Linked DNA regions of Homo sapiens: all the other regions are linked to region 7. Evidence: promoter capture Hi-C in 16 types of primary human blood cells and fetal thymus (Javierre and others, 2016). All regions are on one chromosome and are shown on one strand. Each heading gives the region's core, a stretch centred on a gene start or on the middle of the fragment in contact. The rest is flanking DNA. Distances are from core to core; before and after follow the strand shown. Region 1 has its middle 14 kb from the start of RPS23. Region 2 overlaps ATG10 (autophagy related 10). Region 3 overlaps ATG10 (autophagy related 10). Region 4 overlaps ATG10 (autophagy related 10). Region 5 has its middle 34 kb from the start of RPS23. Region 6 has its middle 20 kb from the start of RPS23. Region 7 holds the start of ACOT12 (acyl-CoA thioesterase 12).

Evidence for each region. The method cuts DNA at HindIII sites, captures the fragments that hold promoters and counts their contacts. A CHiCAGO score of 5 or more calls a contact.
Region 1: a fragment that was not itself captured here is called in contact with the fragment with the promoter of ACOT12 in region 7 in 1 of 17 cell types (total B cells); the score reaches 5.0 in total B cells.
Region 2: a contact is called between a fragment that was not itself captured here and the fragment with the promoter of ACOT12 in region 7, in 10 of 17 cell types (monocytes, naive B cells, activated CD4 T cells and 7 more). The highest score is 10.3, in monocytes.
Region 3: a fragment that was not itself captured here is called in contact with the fragment with the promoter of ACOT12 in region 7 in 15 of 17 cell types (naive CD4 T cells, total CD8 T cells, total B cells and 12 more); the score reaches 10.2 in naive CD4 T cells.
Region 4: a contact is called between a fragment that was not itself captured here and the fragment with the promoter of ACOT12 in region 7, in 2 of 17 cell types (monocytes and non-activated CD4 T cells). The highest score is 6.7, in monocytes.
Region 5: a contact is called between a fragment that was not itself captured here and the fragment with the promoter of ACOT12 in region 7, in 1 of 17 cell types (naive B cells). The highest score is 5.5, in naive B cells.
Region 6: a fragment that was not itself captured here is called in contact with the fragment with the promoter of ACOT12 in region 7 in 5 of 17 cell types (monocytes, erythroblasts, total B cells and 2 more); the score reaches 8.4 in monocytes.

The regions. Positions count from the first base shown.
Region 1 is chr5:82,290,879-82,293,578 of GRCh38, forward strand. It overlaps the pseudogene ATP6AP1L. Among named protein-coding and RNA genes, the nearest start is that of RPS23, 14 kb to the left of the region's middle. RefSeq lists an enhancer at 2,621-2,700. The HindIII fragment of the contact is 7,059 bases long and covers 1-2,700 here.
Region 2 is chr5:82,236,536-82,239,235 of GRCh38, forward strand. The region is part of intron 5 of ATG10 (autophagy related 10); the gene reads left to right. Among named protein-coding and RNA genes, the nearest start is that of RPS23, 40 kb to the right of the region's middle. The HindIII fragment of the contact is 3,441 bases long and covers 1-2,700 here.
Region 3 is chr5:82,215,297-82,217,996 of GRCh38, forward strand. All of the region lies in intron 5 of ATG10 (autophagy related 10), which reads left to right. Among named protein-coding and RNA genes, the nearest start is that of RPS23, 62 kb to the right of the region's middle. The HindIII fragment of the contact is 4,691 bases long and covers 1-2,700 here.
Region 4 is chr5:82,196,380-82,199,079 of GRCh38, forward strand. The region is part of intron 5 of ATG10 (autophagy related 10); the gene reads left to right. Among named protein-coding and RNA genes, the nearest start is that of RPS23, 81 kb to the right of the region's middle. The HindIII fragment of the contact is 7,253 bases long and covers 1-2,700 here.
Region 5 is chr5:82,311,116-82,313,815 of GRCh38, forward strand. It overlaps the pseudogene ATP6AP1L. Among named protein-coding and RNA genes, the nearest start is that of RPS23, 34 kb to the left of the region's middle. The HindIII fragment of the contact is 1,972 bases long and covers 376-2,347 here.
Region 6 is chr5:82,256,890-82,259,589 of GRCh38, forward strand. No RefSeq gene overlaps it. Among named protein-coding and RNA genes, the nearest start is that of RPS23, 20 kb to the right of the region's middle. The HindIII fragment of the contact is 627 bases long and covers 967-1,593 here.
Region 7 is chr5:81,392,702-81,395,401 of GRCh38, forward strand. ACOT12 (acyl-CoA thioesterase 12) reads right to left here and starts at 1,433. Exons shown (of 15, transcript NM_130767.3): 1 at 1,287-1,433. The coding sequence starts at 1,413. The HindIII fragment of the contact is 6,480 bases long and covers 1-2,700 here.

The DNA.
Region 1 (2,700 bases), core at 76-2,575, 900 kb after region 7:
TCAAATAGACATAGTATCTACCCTCATGGAGCGTGCCTTGTGATGAAGAAACAGCATCAATAAGTACATGAGAAAATAAATCTCTCAGTGCAAATTGTGATATGTGTTATGATGAAAGTGAATAGAATACACGGAGAGCTAGAGAGGTGTGAGGTGACTTCACAGAGAGAATAGTATGTGCAAGGTCACTTGGGTGCAATGGAGCTTGGCATGTTGAGGGTGCTGAGAAGCTGAGTGCGAGCCAGTGTGCCTGGAACATGTTCAGGATGAGGAGCTGGTGTTAAATGAGGCAAGAGAGACCAGCAGGGGCCACGCCATGCTGGGCTTTGTAGGAGTTACGTGGATTTGGATTTTGAATCACTATGCAAAGACCATTATAATTGATTGAAACATTTATGCAAGTTTTGGTCTGAGAGCGTTGAATGAATAGAGACTGTGCACCTGTTAGTCTTCTTAAGGTAAATATTAGAATTCTTAAGTTAGATCCATTTTTGTTCCTGTGGGAACACAATTCTATATGGTCATATGTGATTATGGGAAGATAGATTTTTGATATTCAAATATTCAGGTAACATATCATTTAGTTATATATAGTAAATAAAAAAATGAAGCAAACCCAAGTTGTGTCCAGTTGTAAAGAAGGCAGCATGGCTGTACAACTTCCTGTTCTCCTGTGGAGACAGTAGAGGGGAAATTTTCCATGTGCCTCTGCATTTTCTGCCTGTATTGTGAGCTAGTCCCTAACTGCTCTTTGTTCTGAATACCTTTTCTAGGATGTTTGTATAGGGAGAAGCCTTGAACGGTAGAAATCATGTCCCCTTTGTAGCAAAGGACAGGCTTGCTTATAGCATTGGAAAGTAGAGGTAGTATTTCCCCTCAGAGCAAAGGGCAGATAGGTTTACTACTCACTATAAAAAAATTGGGGCTCCGTAAGCTCAGGGTTTCTCTCCTGAGATGAAGCCCACTGTGTGTGCAAGTATCCATCTGGGCCTACCTACATTATTCCGAGGGGAAGGGGAGCTGACCAAATATACTGATGCTTGTGTCACTTGCTGTGCGGTGAGTAATAAAGTCCTTTTCTCTGACCCAGGAGTCTGTGTCTTCTGTCAGCCTCCATAAAACTGTCAGGGTAACTAGTTAGCTTCTAAGTGAATAAAATCTCAGACCCTTCACAGTTCTTCACAGAGGCTCCTCAGCAGTCCGAGCAGGAAGGTACAATGCCAGGCAGGTGACACCCTAGAGCTTTGCAGCCTCTAAGATGTCCAGTGAGCATTTCTTGTCACTGTGTGAAACCTACATGTGTGAAACCTACTGGCTACTAATTATTATGCCTTGAATATTCTTAACCAAGTGGGAGAATGTTTCAACAACAGAAAGAATACTATGTTACAATTTTAGGATCAGGACATAAAATCTATTAAAATGATACTTTATTTAAATTGAAAATATTGTGTGTGTGTCTGAAAATGTAACCCAAGCATATTTCCATGAAAGATTCTTTTTTTTTTTTTTTTTTTTTTTTTGAGATGGAGTCTTGCTCTGTTGTCCAGGCTGGAGTGCAGTGGCATGGTCTTGGCTCACTGCAACCTCCGCCTCCTGGGTTCAAGCGATTCTCCTGCCCCAGCCTCCCAAGTAGCTGGGATTACAGGCACCTGCCACCATGCCTGGCTACTTTTTTGTATTTTTAGTAGAGACGGGGTTTCACCATGTTGGCCAGACTGGTCTCGAGCTCCTGTCCTCGTGATCTGCCCGCCTCGGCCTCCTAAATGCTGGGATTACAGGCGTGAGCCACTGTGCCCAGCCGAAAGATTATTATGTAATAACTAGTAAGGGACTAACACTGTCCTTTCTCAGGGTTCACAGAACCATTATTGTCACAATGCAGGATCATCATTGGCTTGGGCTCTCACTTTCTCCTGACCAGGGCCTTGAGGAGTAGGCACTGCCACTGCTCCCATAAGAGAATACCAAGTACTGCTCTGGCAGCTGCAGGAGATGTTCTGTATCTTGCCTGTCCAATACAGGGGGCACTAGCCACAAGTGTCCACTGAACGCTTCAAATTTGGCTTGTTTGAATTGAGATATAAGTAGCATGGTGGCTCATGCCTGTAATTCCAGCACTTTTGGAGGCTGAGGCAGGAGGGCTGCTGGAGCCCAGGAGTTTGAGACCGGCCTAGGTAACATAACAAGACCCCCATCTCTACAAAATATAGAAATAAATAAATTTTTAAAATTATACGCTAGAGTTCAGATTTAGGGCAGAAAAAGAACATAAAATGTTTCACTAATAATCCTTAAAATTGAGTATGTTTGAAATGATAGTATTTTAGACAGGTTAAATAAAAATACTGTTAAAATTAGTTTCACCTGTTTATTTTTACTTCTTTTTAATGTGACTAGAAAATTTTAAATTCCATATGTAGCTCTCATTCTATTTCTATTGAACAATGCTGTTCTAGATCCTTGCTACTCAAAGGGCGGTTCTCAGGCAAGCAGCATCACCATCATCATCATCTGGGAGCTGGTTAGGAATGTGGTATCCTACACCCCACTCCAGACCTACTGGGTCAAAATTTGCATTTTAACGGAATCTCATGTGATTTGTATGCACTTTACACTTTGAGTAGCTGAGCTTCCCTAAGACTAGGACTGGCTGGTTTAGCAAACTAAAAATATAAGATGCCCAGTTAAACTTAATTT
Region 2 (2,700 bases), core at 181-2,680, 840 kb after region 7:
AATTAGTTTCTGGCCTCTCTATGGAGCCATGAAAGAAGGTTTTGTTAGTAGAGGAGGTGGTATCTGAGAATTATTGCTATGATGTCTGTAATTTTTAATAAAAATTCTAGAAAGCCTGGTGGTGTCTGTGTAGTATATGAATTTGATGAACTGTCTTTCTTTGGTTTTGTTTGTTTGTTGTTGTTGTTTAAACCACCTTCCTAAACACCATTAGACATTTCTTCCTAATTAACAGGCCAAAAATGTCAACAGGGGCAGCTAGAGTAAAGTGTGGCTCACTTGTCTTCCTCTGTTCATCCTAGAAATGAGGAGAAACTTGCTGATCTTTCTGGGTACTTAGGTGAGACTTTGGTTTCTTTCCCACATATTTTTTTTCTTAACATTTTCTCACATTTTTTTCTATGTATATTCTCATATACCTATGAGAGATGGAAATCTGAACTGGTATTTCTTCTTTCCCCCCTTTTTTTCCCCTTTTTTAAAACTATAAAGTACGATTGCTTGGTGTTCAAACCTTGCCTCTTTGTCTTGACTACTTTCAGAAAATTATTGGATCATAAAGGGATTGCCTTAATCATTTAACACCAACATCAACAAAACCAAACAAACAAAAATAGGCAATTTTTCTTCTCCAAACTTACCAAACTTCTCAGTCTTACCTAAAAGATGGAAGTTGGTACATCTCTCTTAACTCCTTTCCCATTAAACTTGGAGTAGGCTGTTTCTGGCTTATATTCTACGGCCACACTTTGCTTTTCTCCTCCCTGAGTTCTGCCCGTCCTTTAAGGTCTGGGCAAGATTAAATACCATATTTTTAAGAAGTCTTGGCCGGGTGTGGTGGCTCACACCTGTAATCTCAGCACTTTGGGAGGCCAAGGCAGGCGGATCACCTGAGGTCAGGAGTTCGAGACCAGCCTGACCAACATGATGAAACCCCGCCTCTACTAAAAATACAAAAATTAGCTGGACATGGTGGCGTGCACCTCTAGTCCCAACTACTCCGGAGGCTGAGGCAGGAGAATTGCTTGAACCAGGAGGCAGAGGTTGCAGTGAGCCGAGATCATGCCATTGCACTCCGGCCTGGATGACAGAGCGAGATTCCTTCTCAAAAAAAAAAAAAAAGTCTTTGCTGCCGTCTCTCTCCCCGAGTCAGAAGTGACCTCTCCTTTCTTTGAATTCCCATATTCCTGGATGTGTACCTTTGAGTAGCCAGGATCACAACCAGCCTATCATATATAACAGTTATTTCTGTAATCCTTGAATGGTAGATGCCCTAATGGAGTATGGGGAGGAGAGAGGAGATACCAAATTTCATTTGACTCAAGATCTCTCATAGCTCATGAAAATATACATCCTGCTATACAGACTTATGTTTCCAACCGTAGCCACACAACACAGTGTTACAGAAAGCATACGATTGAAGCCATACAGCAAGCATTAGATCTGCCTTAAGAAAATAGTGATTAAGTTTCAGGCAAGCAGGATCTTAAGGAGTATCATCCCAGGGAACAAGGTCTTTCCATCGATAGGGCCTCAGGCCTGGGCCACCTCTGCATCGAAGTTTTCCTTTATTTTACTGGTGAGCTCCTCTGTGGCCCTCAGGCACCTCAGATTGTCCTTGGAACACCCTCCACCTTATAGCAGGGAGTGTCTCATTTTTTGCTAGTGCCACTGTGATCCCTACATGGTCTTCTCTGGAAGTGTGAGGACTCCCCATGCCTTCCCTCCGAATGGTGAAATTAATTGCTGCCACAGAAGGAATCTTTCTTCGCAGCTTTTCCTGGTCGCAGTCCTATTACCACGCCCCACCCACCCGACCCCTAACCACTGCCCAGCCATCAGCCATCTCTGCTATTCTCACTAGGGATCTGCTTTTTCATTCAGGGGACAGGGCATGAGTATTTCACCTTTAGGAGTCTTTCTTCTAGAGGTGCAATTCAAGACTTGTAGTATTGCAGGTGCAGCTGGACTGTAAACCCCATGAATTAAGATAATTAGCTGCTGTTTTATGTATTTCTAGTACCTAAAACTAGAATGTAAATTCTATGAGAACAAATTTTGCGTCTGTATTTAGTGTGCAAATATTTGTAGTGCCTAGAAAAGTGCCTGGCATATAGAATGTGCTCCATAAATAAATGGATGGGCAGATGGATGGATATATGTATGAGTGTTTAGCATGGAATCTTACCCACAATAAGTATTCAGTGATGTTTACTGAATGCATAAGTAAAAAAACATATGGAGTAACAAAGGTGGGAGTAAAGTAGGAAGGCATATATTTTGGTAGTATTTGAGTCCGCTTCTTAGTCTGGGTAACATACCTTAGGGGGATACAGTGGTGTGGCAAGGAGTAGGCAAACTCACAGAATTAAAATATGCATCTTGGTGCATCAATTTTCCACAATGGTAAAATAAGATACTATTTTTTAATGTGGAAGCCAATAGATAAGAGTTTAGAATATATTGCATATTTGACATAATTTTTTAAAGTAAATTACATGTAGAGGGTTATCCTAACCATCTCCTCAAATCCTCTCCTTCGTTCTTAGATACACATTGGAAGAAATATTTGAGAAAACAGATACTGAAGTTTTTATCTTATGTTGGGACTTCTGCAATGTAAAGTAGGTTCTGTCTCCAGTTTTGTGCCAAGGAGAGAATGGTGTCCCTACAGTGACGTAGGGGCTATGGGTGCCCTCC
Region 3 (2,700 bases), core at 190-2,689, 820 kb after region 7:
CCAGCAAAAGAGAGTGTTAGTAAGGTAGACATAACAACCTTTTGTAACCTAGTAATGGAAGTGGCTTCCCATCACTTTAGCCATATTCTATTTGTTAGAAGCAAGACAGTAGATCCAGCCCATACGCAAGGGGACACAAGGGAATTATTGAACCGTTTTAGAAAGCTGCCTACCAGACCTTGAGTTTTTTCAATGGTGATATTCTCAGAAAGAAAAAATTAATTTTTATATATCTTTAAAAAACACTTGAATTAAATGTCATGTTTGTTAAGAAACATCAGCTCATTTTGTCCTGAAACAAAGGCTAACACTGATAAATACAGCACCTGCATTGACCATATTTTAAAAATATTTCCAGGCCAGACACGGTGGCTCACACCTGTAATCCCAGCACTTTGGGAGGTTGAGGCAGGTGGATCACCTGAGGTCGGGAGTTCGAGACCAGCCTGGCCAACATGGTGAAACCCCATTCTCTACTAAAAATACAAAAAATTAGCTGGGCATGGTGGCAGGCGCCTATAATCCCAGCTACTCGGGAGGCTGAGGCAGAATAGCTTGAACCTGGGAGGTGAAGGTTGCAGTGAGCTGAGATCGCCCCACTGCACTCCAGCCTGGGCAACAAGAGCGAAACTCCATCTCAAAAAAAAAAAAAAATCCAATTTGTTACATTGTAATAAATAATGACCTTCTGAGAATTCAAAGACCCAAATACAAGGGAGTGTATTGCAGCAGGCTTAATCAATGTTTAGTGATGATAGAATGTATAATCGAAGAGCCAAGGATAGAAATCAAATTGCCTTTCTGCAGAAAGATCCTCAACAATTGAAAAACTGCTCTATAAAACTAAAGAACAGCTTGATGATTTAGAAAATAGAAACTGCAGAAATATTCTGTAGATCCTAGATATGTCCCCACTGCTTATTACCTTGTCTGCTTCAGAGTAAAAAGGAAGGGCAACAAAAAGAGATTCAACTTAGTGAATTTCGCTCTGGCCTGGAGCCACCCTGGCTTAAGACTATTAGCTAAGTATATCCTGGTCTAAAAATAAATCTTCTACCCTCTTATTTTCAAGTAACTTTCCTTTTTCATACCCAGACCAGAGAAGAGACATATATTATTAACTTACATCCAGACTTTGATAGATTCTTTAATGAATGGATTTTGATGTTCTGATATGGTAAAATTATGCATCACATCCACAATAATAGTATTGTTTTAAAATACCAGAATCAAGTAAGCCACCTGAGCAACTTGTGAGACTTCAAGCATGCTAATTAGGTATGAATAGAATGGGAGATCAATGACAGACTGGCAACACTTCAGCAAAAGCCACTTCTAGATACTTGCCTTATGACCAGGAAATGTCTTACACTAGCAATAGATTATTGTAATATGCCAAACCAATAAAACTCATGCTATTAGGAGTTTCATTAGATTTATTTGAGTCCACAGCTATAAGAATGAAGATGGTAGCAACAGGCCAGGCGCAGTGGCTCATGCCTGTAATCCCAGCACTTTGGGAGGCCGAGGTGGGTGGATCATGAGGTCAGGAGTTCAAGACCAGCCTGGACAATATGGTGAAACCCCATCTCTACTAAAAATACAAAAATCAGCTGGGTGTAGTGGTGCGTGCCTGTAGTCCCAGCTACTTAGGAGGCTGAGGCAGGAGAATCACTTGAACCCGGGAGGTGGAGGTTGCAGTGAGCCGAGATTGCGCTACTGCACTCCAGCCTGGGTGACAGAGTGAGACTCAGTCTCAAAAAAAAAAAATGACGATGGTAGCAACAACTATCTTCTCTTTTTACTTGAAACCTGTTTTATAGAAGCAGAATACTTAACCACTCTGTAAGAATGCTTAGGCCTATAGTAAAATTGGGAAGATCATGAGTTTTGCAATCAAACAGACATCAGTCTCAGCCCAGCCTCTTACTAGCTGTTTGGCCTTGGGTAAGTTACCTAACTCCCTTGGAAATTCAGTGTCCTCCTATATAAAATGGGAGAAATAATGGTGGTGATGGTGATGATGACCACAACGAACATTGTTAAGCATTTGTTATTTACTAAACACTGTGCTATTTATGTGCATTAGTTCATTTACTACTTTTATTACATAGTAATATTACATTTACTATGTGCTTATATATTATATTACCTTATAATTCTTATAAGGTATAAATGCAATCTTATCCCTTATATATCCTGTCATATATATGTGTATGTGTCAGAAGCTATTTTTTGCCACATGAATCTTTTGTGACAAATTGTAGAATATATATGCATATATATACACACACACACCCATATACATACACATATAGGGCATAATATTGATTGGCAGCAGTTTACACAGGCAACATGCTTTACATGCATTGTCTCATTTAATTCTCAAAACAGCTGGCCATGTGTGGTGGCTCACACCTGTACCCAGCACTTTGGGAGGCTGAGGCAGGAAGACTGCTTGAGCCCAGGAATTTGAGGCCAGCCTGGGCAATATAACAAGACCCCCTCTCTACCAAAAAAAAAAAAAAAAATTAACTGGGTGTGGTAGTGTGCACCTGTGGTTCTAGCTACTCGGGAGGCTGAGGTAGGAGGCTCGCTTGACCCCAGGAGGTCAAGGCTGTGGTGAGCTGAGATTGTACCATTGCACTCTAGCCTGGGCAACAGATCCAGACCTTGTCTCTAAATTAAAACAAAACAAAA
Region 4 (2,700 bases), core at 41-2,540, 800 kb after region 7:
TGTAGGTAAAGTCCAATTTATCTATTTTTTTATTAGATTTATTTCGCCTTAGGTATTATATCTACAAAACTGTTACGTATCCTAAGGGCACAAAGATTAAACCCTATGTGGTCTTCTAAGAGTTTTATGGTTTTAGCTTTTACATTTAGGTCTTTCATCTATTTTAACTTATTTTTGTATGTAGCAATGAGGTAGGGGTGCAAATTCATTCTTTTGCATGTACTAATAAATATCCAGTAGTCTCTGAACCATTATTTGTAAAGACTATTCTTTTCCCACTTAATTATCTTGGCACCCTTGTCAAAAATCAATTTACCATAGATGTATGCATTTATTTCTGGACGCCAAATTCTATTCCACTGTTTCATATGCCTATCCTTTGTCAGCGTCACACTGTCTTGTTTACTGTGGCTTTATAACAGTCATTTTTTGAAATTGGGAAACGTAAGCCCACCAACTTTGTTCTTCTTTTTGAAGATTGTTTTCGCTAGCTTTGGTTCTATGCATTTCCATATGAATCTTAGCATCAGTTTCTCAATTTCTGCGAAAATGTCAGTTGGAATTTTGATATGGATTGCACTGGAGCTATACTTCAATTTGAGGAGAATTGCCATCTTAACAAGATTCTATCTTCCAATTCATCAATACGGAATGTCTTTCCATTTACTTAGCTCCTCTCAATTTCTTTCAACACTGTTGTATAGATTTTCAGGTGACAAGTCTTGAATTTTTTCATTAAATTTATTCCTACATATTTTGTTCTTTTTGATGCTGTTGTGAATGAAATTGTTTTCTTAATTTCATTTTCATATTGTTCTCTGCTAGTGTAGAAATACAACTGATTTTTTGTGTGTATTTTTTTGTATCCTGTAACCTTGCTGAACTCTTTTATTAGGTCTAATAGTTTTTTGTGGATTTATTAAGATTTTCTATATAAAAGATCATGTCATTATGGCATGTCTTGATTTTTGATGACAGAGAGAATACAGGTAATAGCATGTTGTCTGAAAAAGAAATTGTTCAAGAACTAAAATTCTCTAACCCTAACCAGCTTATCTATCTATCTATCTATCTGTCTATCTACCTACCTACCTACCTACCTACCTACCTACCTACCTACCTGCCTATCTACCTATCTGTCTGTCTGTCTGTCTTTCTTGGGAATATGACCTGTGCCTGTGTCCATCCTTTGGTATTTGGATGTGGCATGAATCCTATTTACATTACTTCCCATTGTCCTCTCAGTCGTTTTCTTCCCACCCACCTTCTCCAATGGTTAATTGCATCCTTCTCTGATTATACCTTACCTCTCTGTCCCATTATTTTCTTTCTTTCTTTCTTTCTATCTATCTATCTATCTATCTATCTATCTATCTATCTATCTATCTATCTATCTCTATAGATAAAATGATTTGTTCAACCAAACTAAGTTCTTTTTACTGTATCACATTCAGCAGTTCAGGTGACTTACCTCAGCTGAGTTTCAGTACCCTGAGAACTCTTTTTGCAAAGGACTGGAGTTTAGTAAGAAGTCCATTTCTTGATCTATGATGTTTTCCTCAATTCCTGGCTAATGCCTGGTATTGTGTGCCCTGTTCATGGAAAAATAGAACTCCTCACATACTTTAGAGTGAAATATGAGGGAAATTGAGAAGCATAGGAGGATTGGGCCTGGGGAAGGTTGACTAAGGGGATTTAGCTGGTAATGCAGAGTATTTTCCTTGAGATTTTCATTTAATTCACTTGCTTAATTGTAGGTTTTTGTGGAAATTTACTTTTTAGACATTCTTACTAAATAATATTAGACTACATAAAGAGGGAGTGGTATAAAAAATTTACCTTTGCTCAAGTGAGGTAGAAGGTGAGCAAAAGAAACCAGATTTGCATTTAATAAACAAAATAGAATGCTAAGTCGCCCAGGCTGGAGTACGGTGACAGGATCGTGGCTCACTGAAGCCTCCACTTCCTGGGTTCAACTAATTCTTGTGCCTCCACCACCCAACATGGTAGGTAGTTGGGATTACAGGTGTGCACCACCATGCCTGGCTAATTTTTGTATTTTTAATAGAGAGATGGGGTTTTGCTAGTCAGGCTGGTCTTGAACTCCTGGGCTCAAGTGATCTGCCTGTCCCAGCCTCCCAAAGTGCTGGGATTACAGGTGTGAGGCACCAAGGCAGCCAAGGATGTGCACTATCTACATGTTTTCTGTAGTTTTAGCCTTAACTGTAAACTCAGCCCCCAAAAACAGAGATTTTACAACCTGAATCTATGGTCTAAGAGGTTATTGCTCTCATTTTGCCACATTCTAAGGACAGGCCACTGTTATTATTTTAACAGAAGAAATTCCCGAAAGGGAACAGTACTTGGGATTGGGGGACTTGCCTGAAACTATTTAATTGCTGTTTTGCTTGACTTTTCACATTGACTCTTCTGAAGACCGAGCATCCTGATTTTTGTCAGTGAAGTATTACCTAATGTTTAGTATGATCATTTACCATTAGCTTCCTAGAAGGAGCATGATATACAGTAAACATTTCCAGGTACAACATTCAGCTTTCACACTGATACATTATATAGCTAATTTTCTCCTAGTTTTTCCTGAAAATGTTCCAGTTAAAAGCAGGCAGCTTCTTCTGATCATTTATCTCAGCCACAGGGAATCTTCAATGCAAAATGCTCATATTTATTTCTTTTTAAAGA
Region 5 (2,700 bases), core at 112-2,611, 920 kb after region 7:
TTAATTTTGGAGAACCTTCTTCCTCAGAACACTTGTCTACATATCATGGGAGACTAGAGTTTCACTGATCATAATTTAGAAAATATATGTCATCATCTTTCAGAGCAACTTTACAAGTAAATAGAATCCCACAAGGTGACCAAACACACATGTCTGTTTGATCTAGAAATGGAGACTATTTTTGATCTGTAATTCCACTTTTTTCCAAAATGAAAAATAGCTTTATTATTATTATTGTTATTATTATTTATTCTGATGATAAAGGTATGTAGCAGAAACTGTCAGTACCCCGTGAATATCTACATGGTCCTTTCCATTTGAGAGCACTGTAGCCTACCTGCTGAACTTTCAACTCCCCGCCTCTCTTTGCCTAAAAGCTTTCTCTGGCCCACTGCCCCCAGTCCCTGGCCCAGCAGCCTTCAACCAATGACTGGAGGACACATACACACACCTCAGCTCCCTCCCCGTCAGGTGAGATAACTCAGCAGCATGTGCTGTGCTCTGGCTCCCAGGTTCCATCACGGCCATGAAGCCCTGCTTGTCCACATTGGAAACTGGCTTAATAATGTACCTCTTTTAGCTGCCTTCCCTTCCTCTGTCATTTCTTTTCTCTCCATTTTACGTATTTTGAATGACTAAACTCCCCTGAATATTTCTTATATTCACACCTGTGTCTTAGAGACTGCTTGCAAAGAAGCCAAATAGAGACAAGAAAAACTAATGAAAACAGAAAAATCAGAAAATATTGAGCTACAGAAAGAAGAAAATGAAAATCATCAATAATCTAAACACCATTTGTAATCACTACTAATGTTTTAATCTCTATCCTTCCAGACATTTTTTTTTAATGCAGTCACTTTTTTTTTTAAATGGAAATAAAATGATAATGACAAGTAAATTATGACTTTTTTCATGGCTGGAAAACAGTCCATTCCAAAAGAGTTAAGATTGGATTTGAAGCCCAGCTCTGACACTTACTCTCCAAGTGAGCTTATTCAAGCCCTTTGTGTCTTAGATTCCTCAGCTGTGAAGTTAGAATAAGGACATTATCTATTACATGGTGTTGAAGTGAAGATTAAACACAATACACATACATAACACAGAAGTTATTAAGAGAGCTATTACTATTATTTTAAACCACAATTTAGCAAATTCTTCATTGATGTCCATTTAAGTTTTTCTCAAATTTTTTGAATAATAAACACATAATCAAGTGTTGATTCTAAAAAAGGAAAAACAAAACAAAACAAACCCAAACTTTGTGTGTTTTTTCTTTCGTAGGAATTTGCACTGTCCACTTTGGGTGCTGCCCTGTCATTTGCTCTTTTTCCATCCATCCAGGGAAGGCTCTGCAGCAAAAGTGAAGCCTTTCCCCAAGCCCGTTCTGCCGCCTGACAAAAGAGGGCGCCATTGTACTGTTCATAGACGATGCCTTGCGTCAGTAAACGTGGGAAAAGTTCTTTAGGAGTAATGCTGTTTTTATAACCATTTTCAGATTCATCCTTACCAATTACAACAAGTTGTCCATCCAGAGTTGGTTTAGTTTGCGCCGAGTCGAGATCATTTCCAACAATTCAATCCAAGCAGTCTTTAACCCAACTGGCGTATATGCTCCCTCTGGTTACTCCTACCGCTGCCAACGCGTGGGCAGCCTGCAGCAGGACCAGGCCCTCTTGCTGCCCAGCGACACGGATGATGGGTCGAGCCTGTGGGAGGTCACTTTTATTGATTTCCAGGTAATAAACTAAAACCTATGCTCAATGCACCTGCGTTTTTGGTACCAAAAGAGCTCAGTGTTTGTTTAAAAACACCTGAAACAAACCTAGATGCTTAAGGAAAAGAGAAGTAGATGCCTTTAAAAGAATATTGGTGGTTTTTTTCCTTTGTCTTTTAAGGTATGAAGTAGAATAGGATAGAGAATTTTATCTCCCTGTGTCCCCCACCTCCTACCCAGGGCTTGCTTTTACATTCAGCTTTATCCAGCACGAATAATTATCAGTGAGGAATGCCAGCCATCTAAGCCCTAGTGAAGCTGTGGGTGAAGCCAGGGACTGACACTTCCTGGACTGAGAGGCCCTTCTGGGGAGAGGCATTGGCGGACAATTATTTTATTTCCTTCAGGGAGTGGCGCAGTGATCTTATCAGGGAAGATAAGAAGTACATCGGCAGTGTGAGTGACAGCTTTGGCAGTTAGTAGGAAGGGACTCAGCGGGGAGTCAAAAATATCCCAAAGATCTTGAAAGTATTTGGAGTAAGGAATGGGGTGTAAGAGATTCCTTTTCACCACCAGAATCTTAGGCTGAGAGACATTCTGTCAAGTTCCTCTATCCTGTTTACCTGTGAATGAAGCTTAGCTTGTTCCTACCACTCCCTGAAATAGTAGGCAGGGCTTTGCATGTACCTCTTATGGGCACATTCCAACCTTTTCCAAATATATGTGGGCATTGGCATATATGCATATTCTTCCCTTTCATCCTTCCCAAGCTTAGAGAAGTGTCGTGTGGATGAAAGGCAGTTTGGGGTAGGGAAGGAGCTCACATTTTGGAGTCAGACAGACCTGGTTTCAAATTACTGCTCAGCCACCAGGGCAAGTTACTTAACCTCTCTCAATTTCTCACCTATCTTTATTAATGTAAAGAATACGTGGCCTAAGATATGTGGAAACACTCAGGAGTGTGCCAGGCGTGGATTAACAATAAT
Region 6 (2,700 bases), core at 30-2,529, 860 kb after region 7:
AGATCAAAATGATACATAAAACTGAATGTGCTTTAACCAAGGCAGTGAGACATGGAGTGAGGGGTGACAGTGGATAATGACCTGCTCCTTCAGCGACACTAGCATCCCTACTCCTCTCCACCTCATTGTATGTCTGAGCCCTCCCCAGTGCCAAGCGCTCTCTGATCTGGGGAGTCTTTTCCTTCACACCCTTAGCTGACTGTTGCTTATGCTGGTGCCCACCTGGAAGTGCTTCCTTCCCCACAGGTCTACCCAATTCCCACCCTGGTGTTGGTGATTCACTGTCACAAAGCCACCTCTGACCACCACAGACCCCAATCAGTGCTCCCTTCATTACTCACCATCCTTAGTCACTATGAGCTTTTAGCTGCCTCTCTTCCGCTCTAATTTCTCCCCAACTTGATAAGTATTAATTAAGTCATTTCAGGTGTTGGCCACTGTCCTTGATTTGCTGTGTTGCAGCATACACAGAAGAATGTCTGTGTGTGCCACCTAAGTAGAAAGGCTCTTGGGTTGGGAATTTGAGAGGTGGGAAAACTCTTTGAGGGACCAGTGGAGGGAGCAGTGAGGGGAGCAGAGGCTGTGTTGCTCAGCAGGTACTAGCCTACGAGCTAGAGGTTAAAAAAACAAAATTCCCCTTCCCCCCAACAAAGGCTTATTAAAATCAAGAGAAAAAAGGCCAGAACTGGGTTTTTGCATGTATTTCTCCTATGATAGGTATAGTGGTTTTTATTCATACTCCCAAAATATTAGGAAATAGAGCTCTGCAATGTCAAAATCAGCTCTTACATAATCCAGAGATATTCCAGTGAGGTTTTTTTAGGGTTAAAATTTAAGAATGAGAATATGAAAATATTCACTTAAGCAGATTTCCTCTTACATACTGAATCCTAGGCCAGGTGCCACAGATAGCAAATGGGGAGACATAAGAATGCCATAGTCCAGTGGAGAGGACACACAAGAGGAAGCTTCAGGAACAGTAGGCTGCATGCTGTGGGCAAGCACATGCCAAGGAAGGCTTTGCAGAAGAGGAATGTGAGTGGAGTCTCGAAAACCTTATGACTTAGCCAGGTCAAGAGTGAAGGAAGAATCTTGAAGGTGCTTGTAGGGAAGTGGTGAAGAATCAAGCTGGCTAGAGCAGGACTGGGGCCAGCTCGGGAAGAGTCTTTACTGTCACACTGAGAATTTGTATTTGGCCCGAAAACCACAGCCACTGCTGGGATTCAAATAGAAAAGTTAAAGTGATCACATTTGCGTTTAAGAAAGAACCTGTATTTTTAAATGGCTGCTGCATATAACTAATCATCCATACACTTTGTCAGGTTTCGTTTTGTTTTGTTTTTACTGCAGTGTCTTAGCCACAGGATTTAGAAGGTTGAGGAGCACAGCAGGGGCTGAGATTGTGCCAAAGACACTTCAGTTTTTACCTAGGGTCTTCCAAAACAAAACCTGCCAGTGTCCTGAAAAGCCTTGAATTCTGACTACTGAGTTACCTGGGGCAAGTCACTGCACCTCTCTGGGCCTCTGTTTTCTGATATATTAACATAAGAAAGTGTATTTGATTGAGTAAAATCAATTTATTGTTTTGTAACAAGCTTTTTTTTTTTTTTTTTTTGAAATAAGGTCTTACTCTGTTGCCTAGGCTGGAGTGCAATGGCTTGATCTTGACTCACTCCAGCCTGACCTCCTGGGCTCAAGGGATCCTCTCATTGCAGTCTCCTGAGTAGCTAGGACTACAGGCGCATGCCACCACGCCTGGTTAATTTTGCTTATTTTTTGTAGAGATGAGGTCTCACTATGTTGCCCAGACTGTACTTGAACCCCTAGGCTCAAGAGATCCTCCTATCTCAGCCTCCCAAAGTACTGGGATTACACAGGTGTGAGCCGCTATGCCCAGCCAGTTTTTTTTTTTTTTTAATGAAATAGAATACATAAAAAAGAAAATATCAAAGTGCACTACACATAGTAAGGGCATTATTGTTTTGTGAAACTTTGGTTTCAACTATATGTTTTATATATATATTTATATATATATATATACACACACATATTTTATATATATACACACACATATATTTTATATATATATGAAATCTGTGTGTGTGTGTGTCCACACACGCACACATGCACGTGTGCACTGGGTTGTAACATAGACTGTATTTCTAGTGCCAGAAAATAGAAATCTGAAAACTGATGGACAAATAAGCTTCCTTCCTATTCTAAGACTTGATTCTCCTTATGCTGCTGACCAGTAAGTTGCTGAAGGCTATTCTATTAATAGAAGGGTATAGGAAGTACTTAACAATTATTGTTTCTGCGGCACTTCATGTGCACAAAGGTGTTTGAAGCTACTCCTCTGGATTTTTACAGGGCTTCTCTATGGAAGCATTTTCACATTTTTATTCCTAAATCTGGTAGTTCTTTACAGTAATCCTGTGATCTCAAGCCCTTGCTTTAACTTTTGTATTGTTAGTAGTGACATCTAGTGGTTCTGTTGCAAGTATCTTGCATTCTAGACCATTGGAGCTGAAAGTGATTTTAGTGACCACCAGGTCTCATTTTGTAAATTATTAAAAATAAACTGAAAACTCACATGTATTCCTACATTCAAATCAACTCTATATAATAATAAATAAAACCTATAGCTGTGTAATGCTTTCTTGGATTACTTTGAAGCTTTTCAAATACCCAGAAGTCACT
Region 7 (2,700 bases), core at 183-2,682:
TTTTGTATTCATGTTTCCATTGTTAATATAACCAATCTCAAATCCTGTTAAAAAAAAAAAAGGCTTAAACGAATCATTGATTTCTCACAATTGTGGAGGCAGGGAAGTTCCAAATCGAGGTGCTTGCCCATTGTAGGTCCTAGTGAGGGCTCTCTTCCTGGCCTGTGGATGGCTGTCTTCCTGCTGTGGCCTCACATGGCAGAGAGAAGCTCTCCAGTGTCTCTTCTTATAAGGACATTAATTGTATGGGACCAGGATTCCACTCTTATGACCTCATTAGCCTTAATTCTTCACTCCAAATAGAGTCACACCAGGGGTTAGGACTTCAGTGTATAAATTTCGGTGGGTGGTGTGGGGGATATAATTCAGTCCTTAATAAATGTTTTTGCCATTTTTACTGTCATTCTGTCACAAGAACACAGTGGAGTTTTCCAGAGACTACATAAGGGTGTGGTAGCAGCAGGGTGAATGCAGAAGCAGGTATGAGTAGTCAGCAATCCTCCACTAGCCAGACCTTAGAGAGACTCGCCAGGATGTAACCTTTATCACCACTCCTCTCGCTACACTTTTGTTCTTGTGGAAAATAGTTATTTCTTAATTAAAAATGTTATGCTAACAATGTAGTCCATTTCTTTTTTAAAAATAATTAAAAATTTTAAATTTCCATTACGGTAAATGTGATATAAATAGCCTACATAAACAAAAGCTGCCTGGGTGCGGTGGCTCATGCCTGTAATCCCAACACTTTGGGAGGCTGGGGCCTCCCAACACTTCAGGATCACTTGAGTCCAGGCGTTTGAGACCAGCCTGGGCAACATAGTGAGACCCCATCTCTACAAAAGCAAAACAAAACAAAACTCCCAAAGTCAGCTGGGCCTGGTGGCGTGCGTCTGTGGTCCTAGTTACTCTGGAGGCTGAGGTGGGAGGATCGCTTTAGCTCAGGAGGTCGAGGCTGCAGCGACCTCTGATGGCGCCACCGCTCTCCAGCCCGGGAGAGAGCTCAACAACAACAACAACAAACAAACAAACAAAAAACCCCGCAGAAGCTCTCTGGGCTCCTCACTTGTTTAATGGAATGAAGGAGTCCCGAGAGCCACACATTTGGGAACCACCGGTCTCGGCCATGCCCAGCGCGGGCGCACTGTTGCAACACCCCTATCCCTGGCTGCGCAGGGTTCAGCTCTCCGCAAGTACCTTCCTCGCCTTCCTACCCCCCCCAGCCCCCAGCCGCCGCCGCTCCCGCAGCCCCGGTCCCGCGCCTCCCCGCAGCCCCGGCGCCCGCCTACCCGCCAGGCAGGCGGTGGTGTCGATCCACTTGAGCAGCTGCCCCGCGCTCAGCTCGCCGCGCGCAGTGGCGTGCGCCGGCTGGATGGCTTGGCTCATGACCACCTCGCCGGGCGCCGGCCGCTCCATGGCCAGGGCGAGAGCGCTACGCCTGCGGCCCCCGACACCCCACCATGCCCGCTCCGCCCGCCCCGCCCTCCCCGCCCAGCTCCAGAGGGCACTGGCGCCGCCCGCCCGGGCCGCGAACCCCTGGCCGCCAGGTGGTGGGAGCTGCGAGTGAGGGGGCCCGCACTGTCATCCCAGGACTATCGCGAGTGGGGGAAAACCAGCGCTCTCGGGTCTCAGGAGAAGTCTGGGAAGTGCGCGGGGAGGGGGCTCCCGGGTAGACAGGTCTGGAAGGCGGCTCCCCGAGAGCCGGAGCGCGAGGAACAGCTTTTGAGATAAAAAAGCTGTTACACTTTCTAGAGCTGCTATCAGTGACTGTACAAAGCAGTCCTCATTAGGGAAACAGTGTCTCCAGAAAACCTCCAGCATCTAATGGATTGGTGGATGTCTGACTGTCAGGGGAGGCTGCTCCAGGGAGCACATTTACGATGGAGAACTGGAAACCCGGAGAAGTGGAGCAAGCAGCTGAGGTGATAGGAGCCGATAAGCGACCCGATCACCTGGCTGGAACCCAGGGCTCCTGACTGTCCGGAATAGCACGAAGAAGCCTAGCCGACTCTCACGAATTGGTGGTGCCTTTTCATCCTTATATTTTTGGCTTGCCAAGCCTCAGCATGGCGACATCAGAATGGAGATTCTGGTATTTTTCTTTCCTTTTTAAAAGATTTTTTTTAAAATGAAAGTGAAGAAATAAGGAAATGTTGACTTGATAGCTTTTAGGAGCCTCTGTGTATAGGTTTCAGGACAATCCAATCATAAATAGGAATTGCATGTTTTCACTGAGGCAAGCATGAAGTCTGACTTATATAAAAGGCATTAAAATAACTTTTAAAAGCAAACAAAAACTTGTGCATCCAAGATGGTCCCATTATGTAGCTATACACTTATTTCAATGATAACGTTATTACATCGCTTTTGGCACTCCTCCTTGGAAAATGCCTTTTTAATGACTTCTGTATTGAGAAATCATAATTTAGGAATTGATAGATTATCATATATTCACTCCATCTACCAATAACTCTGTGAGAGTCATTTATTGACCTTGGACTTGGCCATGTGGCTTGCTTAAGAATGGAATGTGGAGAGATAGCAGTGTACCACCAGTCTTGCCTTTAGAAGCACCGTGTTTCTGTTCTCAGGAACATCTGACCTCTGCCATGAGGTCAAGTAGCTGCCTATTAGCATCTGGGTACCAGACTGAATTCACGTATTGCAGAGGCATCTCAGCCAGCCGGAGGACTCACAGCCTGA